Linked DNA regions of Homo sapiens: all the other regions are linked to region 2. The links are contacts of gene promoters, found by promoter capture Hi-C in blood cells and fetal thymus (Javierre and others, 2016). All regions are on one chromosome and are shown on one strand. Each heading gives the region's core, a stretch centred on a gene start or on the middle of the fragment in contact. The rest is flanking DNA. Distances are from core to core; before and after follow the strand shown.

Region 1 (4,001 bases), core at 476-2,975, 1.3 Mb before region 2:
GCTGGTATCCTGGAACCTGGGAGTTCTGAGGCCAGGTTGAAGGGCTTCAGATGGCAAGGATTGGTGGGTGGGGAGTGGAGCTGTCAGGAAGCAACCTTACTTAGCCTAGTGCCCATGGACCTTTTCTTTCTGATTAGAGATAAGAGACTGATTAGAAAGTCTGAACTGCACACAATTTTCATTTTTGTTTTTATTTTTGGAGACAAGGTCTTGCTCTGTTGCACAGGCTTGAATGCAGTGGCACAATCATGGGCCACTGCAGCCTCCAATTACTGGGGTCAAGCAATCCTCCCACCTCAGCCTCCTGAGTAGCTGGGACTACAGGTGTTCACCACCACACCTGGCTACTTTTTGAATTTTTTGTAGAGACGGGTCCTCCTGTATTGCTCAGGCTGGTCTCAAACTCCTGGCCTCAAGTGATTTTCCTGTCTCAGCCTCTATAGTGCTGGAATTATAGGTGTGAGCCACCGTCCCCAGCCTGAAATGCACACTTCTTTTAACTGGGAAACAGGGATAGGGGTCAAGGAAAGGGAGCATAGATTATCTTATTGTTCAACAACAGTAATTCAGAGATTCCCCCCGATAGGTAATTCATCAGTGGCAAAGAACATGGCTCCCGTGCCCAAGGAACTCCCTGTTTTGTGGTAGAGACGGTGTGCCAAAGTGAGTGACAAGAGCTAAGAGGTATTGCTCAATATTCCTACAAGGCCCACTGTTGGGAGGGACTAACAGTAGCTTGACCGGGGGTTGGACAGCTTGATAGAGGAGGTGAAATTGGCACTGGGTCTTCAAAGGCAAGACTACTAGTCAGAACAAGGAGTAGAAGGAAGGTCAAAGTCTGGAGAGGTTGAGAAAGCATGGTTGGGGGCACCAATGCAGGGTACAGGATAATTGGAACATGGTGATATGAAGGACTTGGTATTACATGAGGCCTGAGGGGAGGTGGAGAGGGATATGACCAGACTAGTTCATTTTCCACCTGAGATTAGGGCAGAAGCACTGGATGTTTGTTGATTGTCCCGTCTTGGAATTCTAGTTGTTCTTACCACTCTCTTTACCCTCATGCTGCCACTGCCCTCCAAGGAAGTCTTAATGTCTTACTTTATTCTCTGAGTGTGCTTCATTCCCCCCCTGAGTGCAAGTTCCCCAAGATGGACTATTCCTCTTCTGCCTGCCTAGCTTAGTATAGGCCAGACCCCTATCCCGTACTCAGTAAGAACTTGATACATGTATGCCCGAGGAATGTGACAGGAAGAGTAAGAGACAGAACAGGAAAAAGGTGGGGAGAGATAAGCACTCTTAGTCCTGTGGAGGATGATAACAAAAAAAGATTCTCAGATTCACAAATAGCCTCTTCTAAAGGCTCGTAGACTGGGCTCTGCTGCAACCATCATGGCTACCTCTACCTTTAGAATGAGACTGGCCTGGAGTGCGGTGGAGGGTGGGTAGGAGGCTTCAGAGAGAAGAAGAACCAACTCCACTATGATAAAGGGCTTACCAGCCTGGGAGTCATGAGGCCTGGGCTTCCAGTACCTGCCTTTGCCACTAATTCTGTTTGGCCTTGGTCAAATCTCTTCAGTGCTCTTGGAGCCTCAGTTCACGCACTATACCCTGAAGGGGTTGATGCAGCTGAGCGCTCTGAGTGTGAAGTGTAGGATAGTAGGCTCCTTTTGGCTCTGATATTCTGGCTGAGACAGCAGATGATGTATTTTTGGACCTGAGGCTATTCAGGGGAGAAACTACAGGCTGCGTACAAAAATTAAGTCTGGGCCCTGGGCCCGCCACTTGGTTCTGACTGGTGGGCAAAAGCAGGCCCAGCCCTGCCCTGCGGGGAGCACCAGTTCGATTAGCACTTGGAACTGTTTGTTAGTCTTCAAAATTTTGAGGACATATACTTACTGTGGTAAAATTCAGATGAACACATTTGGGGAAATCCCTGCCTTTATAGTTTTTAATCTCAAAATATAAGTCGCAAGGACATAAATCTAATACTTTAGGAGCAAACTAGAGTATATGTAGTATATGTATATGTATGTGTGGCATGGCTTTTGTTGTTGTTGTTTTTTGTTTCTTTGTTTTGTTTTTTGAGATGGAATCTCACTCTGTCGTCCAGGCTGGAGTGCAGTAGCATGATCTCGGCTCACTGCAACCTCCAAGTCTTGGATTCAAGCAATTCTCCTGCCTCAGCCTCCCGAGGAGCTGGGATTACAGGTGCGTGCCATGACACCAGGCTAATTTTTGTATTTTTAGTAGAGACAGGGTTTCGCCAGTTGGCCAGGCTGGTCTCCAACTCCTGACCTCAGGTGATCCGCCTGCTTCGCCTCCCAAAGTGCTGGGATTACAGGCATGAGCCACCATGCCCGGCCCATTGTTGTTGGTATTCTTAAAGAAACAGAGCCATGAGTGGTTAGTACACAAATAGTTTATGCAGTAAATAACTGTGGTTACAGTTCATTGTTGTCAGCAATACAGCATTTTCCATCACAATTATAGGTGAAACAAAACCTCATGAAGTAGTCATAGCACATTCATGCTAGCGAGAGCATATTACAAAGCAATGCACGTGCATTATAGGGGCAGACAAAACTGGGGAAGGGCTATATTTTCACTCACCTCTGGTTAACTTTGTGTATTTTGTCATTAAGACTTACATTATGTTTGGGTCAAACAAAAAACCCAAAGAGATTTTATAAAAGTTTACAACCATTAAACAGTATTGTTTAATCCCACAAATGGATAAAGCAAACTACTATAGCTCAACAATACACAAACCAGGACTAAAAATAGTCAATCTATGTATATAGCTAGCTACCATACAATAGATATTGAATATGCTGAGTCTTTACAAAGGCATTGACTATTTTAGACGAGCAGGTTCCAGAAATACACTTGTTTGTTTCCAATGAGAACTAACTGTAGTGCCATTTCAGTTGAAGACTATGCACTCCTCAGTGTCAGACGTGAGGATAAGCAAACTAGGGGAAGGCAGAGGAGGGTTAGGAGGGAGACCTGAGCGGACTCTTTGGACAGCTCAGCATTACTTTCTCTGTGCAGATCCAGACCTGGTTCACAAAGTAGAACAAAGTGTATTGAAATTTTTGGCCCTCAAAAAGGGCATTTGTACAAAGTCCCATACTTACAGCACAGATTGAATGGTAACTGAGTGCCTCTCAAAATGAACTCTTCTATGTTAGAAGAAAACTCAGGGCCAAAGGTTAATGGAAATCAGTGTTTGAATTACTGTATAAAGATAATTTATTCCAAAATAGAAAAAAATGAATTTTAGAGAAGTATTCTCCTGGAAACTAGCAGGGGGTGGGCAGAGAGAGAGAGAGAGAGGGAGAGAGAATCATGCTATGTGTTTTATTACTTAGAAGAAGAAAAGTTTTGTAGACCATTTCCATAAGGCATCTGTCATTCTCCCATACCTGGCACCTTAAGAGAGAGTGCAATGGCTCGATATTACCTTTGAAAAGGCTTCTTTTCCTTTGAGTTGTCTTACAGAAAGGGTGCCCTGGATTGACCATGCCACTCCGGGGTCACACTTCTCCTTTAGATCAAAATGAAAACAACAACAAAATCACAAAAAGAAGAAAAAAAATCAGAAAAGCTACAAAATTGAAGGCCTCAACAGGCACAGACTTCCTATGAGGTCAGAAAATCAGTGAAATAATTAAAATTACAAAGCACCTCTTGCAAAATACACTGTTTTTTGAAAACCACACAAAACGCTTTGTAGTAACCCCTGCTGAGTGCTTAGAGGTAAGTATCCTGAAGGACACATGCTTAGTCCCATGAAGGAAGCTTGATTTTATTATCAAGGCAGCCGAGGGGGTCCCAATGCTTCTTTGTTATTTGCTGTTTTATAATTACAGACAAAATGGAAAGTCAAGAAGTGCGTAGACCTCAATATAAAGAAAATGTTTCTCTAATAACTAGGAACCATGCTGTATTTATGTATTCATAGTTGTATAGCTCCATTTGTAGATTCTTGCAGATGA
Region 2 (3,994 bases), core at 1,054-3,553:
CCTCCCAAGACTCAGTAATATCTGGACCATAAAGAAGGGTGCTCAGCTGGGAGTTCTCTAGGATCACAAAGAATATTTTTTTTCCTGAAGCCCCATTTCTTTTGGGTTTAGCTCAATTTCTCACGAATTGTTCCTCCCACACTAGTCACTCCAAAAACTGACTGGTGTGACAGAATGTTTGGTGGCTGGGCAGAAGGCATAGAAGACTAGCCCCTGTGACAGGAGCAGCACAATAGTGCCTGGGACTATTTCAAGCCTGCCACCTGACTACTTTGCACACCTCCTCTCTCCCTGCTTCCACAACTGAGACTGCTCTGGCCCTTTGTTTCCCTGGACCCCAGGTTTGCAAACTGCCTTCTCATAATCTTAGTCTAATTCAAAGAATCAAGGTTCTGAGTGAAATGTGAGCAAGTGGCAGTGACCAGAGGCACGAGGTAGGGAGGAAGTCTATAATGGAGATTCTGGAAAAGAAAATAAACTTCCAAATCAGGCCCACAAATGAGAATCAGGACTTTGCAAAGCAGGAAAGCATAGCCCCAGGGAAACTTTTATAGTCCAGCCATCCAGATGGGAAAAAAGTTGCATAATGAGCCAGCAGCAGCTCCCTACTCCTCATCGTTTATTTAGACTCAGTACTAGGATGGGAGTCTGATGTTCAATATTGATTTTTGTTGGCAATGTATAGAATGCCATGGAAGGTCATGGAACATCTATATTTTCTATAATATTCCGTGGAAGATCATGGAATATTATAGAAAAAAATGAGTTGAACTGTCAGATCTCAAAGATATCAAGGGAGCCTGATGATGCTTACCCTCTCCTTGTGGAGGTGGGGTGATGCCCTGGCCCAGAGAAAAAAATGAATTGGCCAAGGTGTCCAGCAAGTCTGAGGTAGAGCTAGAGTCAGATCCCTAGCAGCCATGTCAGTTCCTGTGCTCTACACATGCAGAGGCAGCAGTCCACCTCTTACCAGTTCAGCAGCTGGATCTTTTCAAGACTGTCAGGACCCAGAAGCAGCAGAGAACACTCCTGCAATGCAAAAATAGCACGCATTGTTCTCTAATCCTTCTCTCTATCCTCAGCTTTAATCCACCCACCTCCCTTTTTAGACACACACAGAGTTTTAGGGCTGGGCCTTCTGGATATTCTTGAACTAGTGGTGGAACTAGATTCTTTGCTGCCTCAGCTCACCTGGCCCTGGCAGCCACTGATGCCACTTAATGTCCTTAGGCTAGAGACCCAAGTTCGCCGGGCTCCCTGCCACATCCCACACACAGTAGCAGACAAGGCTGGTACAGGCCTCCTCACTTTGTCCTCAGCCTGACCTCCGGTTTGGGCCCAGACAAGATTTTCCTCTCAATATTTAGACTTTTCAAGGAAAAAGGCCTGCCGAAAGCCAGGCTCACAAAGGATGGGGGAAGGGGGACTCTGGAGACCTTGGGGATTCCCTCCACATTCCATAGAAGGTGCGAAATTTGGGTGAGGGTCAAACTATGGAAACAGGTATCATCTCAGAGAAGAAAAGTGAAAGCAATCCTGGAAAGGGAGCCCGGGGCTCTGGATTCCAAATTGGCCCTTGTCGCCGGCAGGCTGGGTAACTGTGGGGAGGGACTTTCCCCACTCTGGGCAGCAGAGGGCCCGTCGGTAACGGGTGGAAGTTGGCCTCTATGGTCTCTAAGGGCACTGGTGTGCCAGAGAGGCGGACGAAGTTAGGGCGCAGGCGCTGCAGCTAGCTTTCCTGGCAGGTGAGTCCCTCCTCTGGGTGGCCTGGCGGCGCGATCCGCAGGGCCTTGTCTCTACGACTAAGGATAGGCCGGCCCTTAGGTTTCTGCAGTCTTCCCAGATTCCTCAACCTCTCTGCCTCGTTACTCCCCGCCGGCCTCTAGCTCAGGAATAAACGTCCTGGTGGCGGCCAGGGCACAGTACCGCGAATGCACAGCGGCCACAGAAATGGGAGTGCGTGAAAACCGAAACCGATCCGGCGAGCCCCATCCGGGCAGGACTGGCTCCTTGAGGCCACGGTGTAGCCACGCCACTACCAGCCCGGCGTGGGGGCGGGAGTGGGGAGCCCCAGCCAGTGGTTCCGCACCCTCTCCGCCCCCTGCCAACACCACGCCTGCACTTATTTGCATTTAAAGAGAAACGCACCAAGGAAAACAGTGGGCGGGCCGGGGCACGCCTTCCCACCATAGCGATTGGGCCATATGCCTGCCAATCAGGACGCAGATGCCCCACCCGGTGGCCTTGGAGTACTGGGGGAGGGGGTATGGGGGAGCTACCCAAAGCCTGGGGAAGGGGAGTCAGTGCTGGAGGTGACTGGAGCCGCGGCGACGGCGGCAGCAGCTGCGGTGGCGGCGCTCTCAGCCGTGGCAGCCGAGGCTGCAGCCCGGCCCAGGGCGGCTCAGCGGACAATAACCGGGCTAGGAACCTGACCGGGCTGGGTAAGCGTTGCGTACAGCCAGGAGCCTCCGCCTGCCCGCGGTCGGGTGCATTCCCGCGTGCTCTGCTCCTACGGACTGGAGGAGGGCACTAAGGACTAGGCGGGTCGGAGTCCCGGTCGCTCGCCCCTCTCCTTTGGAACCCGCTTTGCGGACTGTCGGGTGGAGAGGCAGAGCGGCCTTGAGTCCCCTGGGCACAAGCGACCACGGCTGGGGGGAGGGGGGTTGGGGAGGGCGGGTAGGAAGGCAGGCTAGCCTGGGCCAAGCCTCCCGGCTTTCGGGGGGGCGGGGATGGGCCCGCACGTGCTGCCGCACAGTCCCGGGAAGGGCGCCGCCAGCCAGCACCCCAAGCCATGCATTTGTAGGCCAGGAGCTCTGCAGCTTTGTTGTAGCACATTTGCTGGAACAGCTGTGTAACGCGGGTACCGCTCACCCCTCTCTCCGGCTGCCTGGCTGCCGCCCCTCCCCTCCCCTGTGCATCTCCAGCCTCTCCCTCCTTTCTGCGGACTCAAGCTGGCGTGCTGGCTTGGGCCCGACGGAGACCGGCTTTGGCGTGGATTGGGACATCCACAGACTGCCCCCTCCCCAGAGGAGCTCAGTTGGGCCTGTGGGCTGAGCTCAGTCGCACACTTCCCTTCAGAACCTTGGCCTTGTGGCCCCAACTAGCCGCGCCCCTCCTCCTGGGCCTCCGGGCGCATCTGGCGCCCGCCCCCGCGGTCGGGCAGGCTGGCTGGCAGCCGGGCTCTTGCTGGTCCTTGGGTTAGAGCAGCGGCGCAAGCTAGTCCTTGAGTTAGAGCTGCAAGGCCGCTTTGTCTCCCGCCTCGCCTCGCCTCACCTCCTTTTCCCTTGGAGGATACTGGCCGCGTTTTCCTCTCCAGCCTCCCGTTTAAAAATAGCAATAGGCACGGTGTTTGGGGGGCATTTCCTTGCCAGAGGCCGAAGGAGCCCTCATTGTAGTACGGAACGTATCATACCATCTCTGTGTACAGGAGAGCTAGCGAGGTGGCCAAACCCTCCAACTTCGCAGTTACTTAACATACCCAGCCCGCCAGGCCCCTGTCATTGTCTGCTGGAGACACTTCTGACACTGGTGACCGCCCGAACGCTGGACTTTGCTTGGCTCCCCCGGTGGTGAGGGGCTGTGCCCGCTACATGCGTCACAGCCCAAGCGCCTAGGCGGCAGCTGGACTGGCCCCGCAGAGCTGGTCTCCGTTTGGCCAGGCTGCTTTCGGCAAGGGCCGCGGGGTCAAGGCGAGCCTTGTTCCACACACAAACATCTTCCTCTGCGGCTCTGCCTGCCTGCTGCAGCGGCGTGGGCATGGGCAAGGCAGAGGGCACTGCACTGTTGGACTGCCTGCCCCACCGGGATTCCAGCAGAGCCCCCTCCCCCAGTGTGGCTCCCCTCATTCGGCACCACCCACTGCACAGTCACTGCACCATGGTGCACCTCTGGCAGTGGGCTCTCTAGGCCTTTTTGAGGAATAGGACAGAGGAAGCCACTGGGGGCTTGGTAAGCTCTTGGACCTTTGATTAACCTCTGGTGTGGAGAGCCCTGT
Region 3 (3,521 bases), core at 98-2,597, 1.2 Mb before region 2:
TGTTATTGGTCTGTTCAGGTTTTGGATTTCTTTCTGGTTCAATCTTGATAGGTTGTATGTACCTAGAAATTTGTCCATTTCTTCTAGATTTTCCAACTCATTGGCATATATTTGCTCATCATAGCCACAAATGATCTTTGAATTTCTGCAGTATCAGTTGTAATGTCTCCTTTTTCATTTCTAATGCTTTTATTTGAATCTTCTCTCCTTTTATTAGTAAGTTTGGCTAAAGTTTTGTCAATTTTGTTTTACTTTTCAAAAAACCAACTTTTTGTTTCATTGATCTTTTGTATTATTTTCCTCATTTTAAATTCATTTATTTGTTTTAATCTTTATTTTATTATTATTATTATTTCTGAGATGGAGTCTCCTTCTGTCACCCAGGCGGGAGTGCAGTGCTGCTATCTTGGCTCACGGCAGCCTCCGCCTCCTGGGTTTGAGTGATTCTCTTGCCTCAGCCTGCAGAGTAGCTGGGATTACAGGCACCTGTCACCACGCCTGGCTAATTTTTGTATTTTTAGTAGAGACAGGGTTTCACCACGTTGGCCAGGCTGGTCTCAAACTCCTGACTTGAATTGATCCGCCTGCCTCGGCCTCCCAAAGTGCTGGGACTACAGGCGTGAGCCACCACACCCAGCCTATTAGTTCTTTTCTCCTACTAATTTTAGGTTTGGTTTGCTTTTGCTTTTCTATTTCTTTAAGATGTATCATTAGATTGTTTATTTGAAGTTATTCCTCTTTTTTGATGTAGGGACTTACAGCTATAAACTTCCCTCTTAGTACTGCTTTTGCTGTATCCCATAGATTTTGGTATGTTGTGTTTCCATTGTCTTTTGTTTTAAGAAGTTTACAAAAATTGTTTCATCGACCCACTCGTCATTCAGGAACATATTGTTTAACTTCCATGTGTTTGTATAGTTTCCCAAATTTATCTTATCATTAATTTCTAATTTTATTTTATTGTGGTCAGAGAAGATGCTTGATGTTATCTCAATTTTGTTGAATGTTTTCAGACTTTTTTGACCTATCATATGGTCTATTTTAAAGAATAATCCATGTGCTGAAGAAAAGAATGTGTATTCTGCCACCAACAGATAAAATGTTCTGTAAGTATCTATTAGATTCATTTGATCTATACTGCAGATCAAGTCTGATGTTTCTTTGTTGATTTTCTGTCTTGACGATCTGTCCAATGCTGGGAGTGGGGTGTTGAAGTCTCCAGATATTATTGTATTGGGAACTATCTCTCTCTTTAGCTCTAATAATGTTTCCTTTACTTATCTAGGGGCTCTAGTGTTGGGTGCATATATATTTAAAATTGATATATCCTCTTACTGAATTTACCCCTTTATCATTATATAGTAACTTTCTTTGTCTCTTCTTATAGTTTTTGTCCTGAAATCTATTTTGTTTGATATAAGTATAGCTACTCCTGATCATTTATTGTTTCCATTGGCATGGAATGTCTTTTCCATCACTTTTCTTTTAATCTATTTGTGTCTTTATAGGTAAAGTGTGTTTCTAGTAGGCAACAGAATCTTGTTTTTAATACACTCAGCCACTCTATTTATTTCGATTGTAGACTTTAGTTCATTTACAGTCAACATTATTATTGATAAAGACTTACTCCTGCCATTTTGTTATTTGTTTTTTGGCGTTATTTCTTTATTTTCTTCCTTTAGTGAAGGCGATTTTCCCTGGTGATATGATTTATCTTGCTTTTTGTTTTTCTGTTTCCATTGTAATTTTTTTTGTTGTTTGTTTGAGGTTACTGTGAGGCTTGCACCTGCTATCTTATAACCCGGTAACTACTCAACCCGGTTTTCATAAACAAATAAAGAAACAAAAAGAAAACTAACACAAAATTCTATGCCATAACTTTATTTTCAAGTTTTTTAACTTTTTTGTTTCTATTTAGATCTTATTGTACTGTCTATGTCTTAAGAAGTTGTTGTAGTTATTATTTTTGTTTGGTTCATCATTTAGTTTTTCTAGCTAGCATTTTAGTTGATTACATATCACAGTTGCAGTATTATAACACTGAAGTATTCGGTGTTTTTTTCTGTGCACTTACTATTACCCATGAGTTTTGTACCTTCAGATGATTTCTTGTTTCTCATTAATGTCTTTTTCTTTCTGATTGATGTACTCCCTTAAACATTTCCCATAGGACAGGTCTCTTATGAATGAAATCCCTCAGCTTTTGTTAGTCTGTGGAAGTCTTTATTTCTCCTTCATGATTGAAGGGAATTTTTGCCATATATACTATTCTAGGGTAACAGTTTTTTCCCTTCAACACTTTAAATATGTCATGTCACACTCTCTTGGCCTGTAAGGTTTCCACTGAAAAGTCTGCTGTCAGACATATTGCAGCTCCATTGTATTTGTGTCTTTTTTCTTGCTGCTTTAAGCATCCTTTTTTTATCCTTGGTCTTTGAAAGTTTGATTATTAAATGCCTTGAGGTAGTCTTTGAGTTAAATATGCTTGGAGATATATAACTTTCTTGTATTTGAGTGTTAATAACTTTCTCTAGGTTTGAAAATATCTCTTTTATTATCCTGTTGAATAAACTTTGTACCCCTATCTCTTCCTCTATCTCATTTTTAAGGCCAATAACTCTTAACTTTGACATTTTGAGGCTGTTTTCTAGATCCTGTAGGCATGCTTTACTGTTTTATATTCTTTTCTCTTTTGTCTCCCCTAGCAGTGTATTTTCAAATAGTCTGTCGTCAAGCTCACTCTTTCTTCTTGATCAATTCTGCTATTAAGAGACTCTGATGCATTCTTCAGCATGCCAGTTGTACTTTTTAGATCCAGAATTTCTGCTTGATTTTTAAAATTATTTCAATCTCTGAAAAATTAATCTGATAAAATTCTGAATTTCTTCTCTGTGTTATCTTGAGTTTCTTTGAGTTTCCTCAACACAGCTATTTTGAATTCCCTGTCTGAAAAGTCACATATCTCTGTTTCTCCAAGATTGATCCCTGGTGCCTTATTTAGTTCATTTGGTGAGGTTATGCTTTCCTGGGTGGTGTTGATGCTAGTAAATATTCTTTGGTGTCTGGACATTGAAGTGATTGATATTGAATTTTAGTTTTCACAATCTGGATTTGTTTATACCCGTCCTTATTTGAAAAGCTTTCCAGAAATTAAAAAGGACTTGGGTGTTTTGATGTAAGCTGTATCTGCTTTAGGGAACACCCAAATCTCAGTAATGCTGCAGTTCTTGCAGACTCATAGAAGTTGCACCTTGATGGTCGTAAACGAGATTTGGGAGAATTTTCTGGATTACCAGGCAGAGACTCTTGCTCTTTCCCCTTATTTTCTCCTAAACATATAGAGTCTCGTTCTCTGTTCCAAGCCTCTTAAACCTGGGGTTGGAGGTACACAAGCATCCCTGTGGCCATCACCACTAGGACTAGGACCGTGCTGGGTCAGACTTGAAGCCAGCACAGCACTGGGTCTCACTCAAGGCCTGTTGTAACCACTTCCTGGCTACTGCTTATATTCACTCAAGGCC

The links. Contacts are between HindIII fragments. The CHiCAGO score rates a contact against its expected background, and 5 or more counts as called.
Region 1: a contact is called between a fragment that was not itself captured here and the fragment with the promoter of AMER1 in region 2, in 7 of 17 cell types (naive CD4 T cells, naive CD8 T cells, total CD8 T cells and 4 more). The highest score is 7.9, in naive CD4 T cells.
Region 3: a contact is called between a fragment that was not itself captured here and the fragment with the promoter of AMER1 in region 2, in 1 of 17 cell types (total B cells). The highest score is 5.1, in total B cells.

The regions. Positions count from the first base shown.
Region 1 is chrX:65,506,291-65,510,291 of GRCh38, reverse strand. ZC3H12B (zinc finger CCCH-type containing 12B) reads right to left here. Exons shown (of 10, transcript NM_001010888.4): 10 at 2,405-4,001. Among named protein-coding and RNA genes, the nearest start is that of LAS1L, 26 kb to the left of the region's middle. The HindIII fragment of the contact is 4,163 bases long and covers 1-3,806 here.
Region 2 is chrX:64,204,017-64,208,010 of GRCh38, reverse strand. AMER1 (APC membrane recruitment protein 1) reads left to right here and starts at 2,303. Exons shown (of 2, transcript NM_152424.4): 1 at 2,303-2,441. It overlaps LOC112268307, which reads right to left and starts at 2,065. Exons shown (of 4, transcript XM_047442706.1): 1 at 1,927-2,065; 2 at 971-1,029. The coding sequence starts at 1,992. RefSeq lists an enhancer at 1,767-1,926 and silencers at 2,057-2,156, 3,137-3,196. The HindIII fragment of the contact is 4,951 bases long and covers 1-3,994 here.
Region 3 is chrX:65,402,456-65,405,976 of GRCh38, reverse strand. The region is part of intron 5 of ZC3H12B (zinc finger CCCH-type containing 12B); the gene reads right to left. Among named protein-coding and RNA genes, the nearest start is that of LAS1L, 130 kb to the left of the region's middle. The HindIII fragment of the contact is 3,588 bases long and covers 1-3,141 here.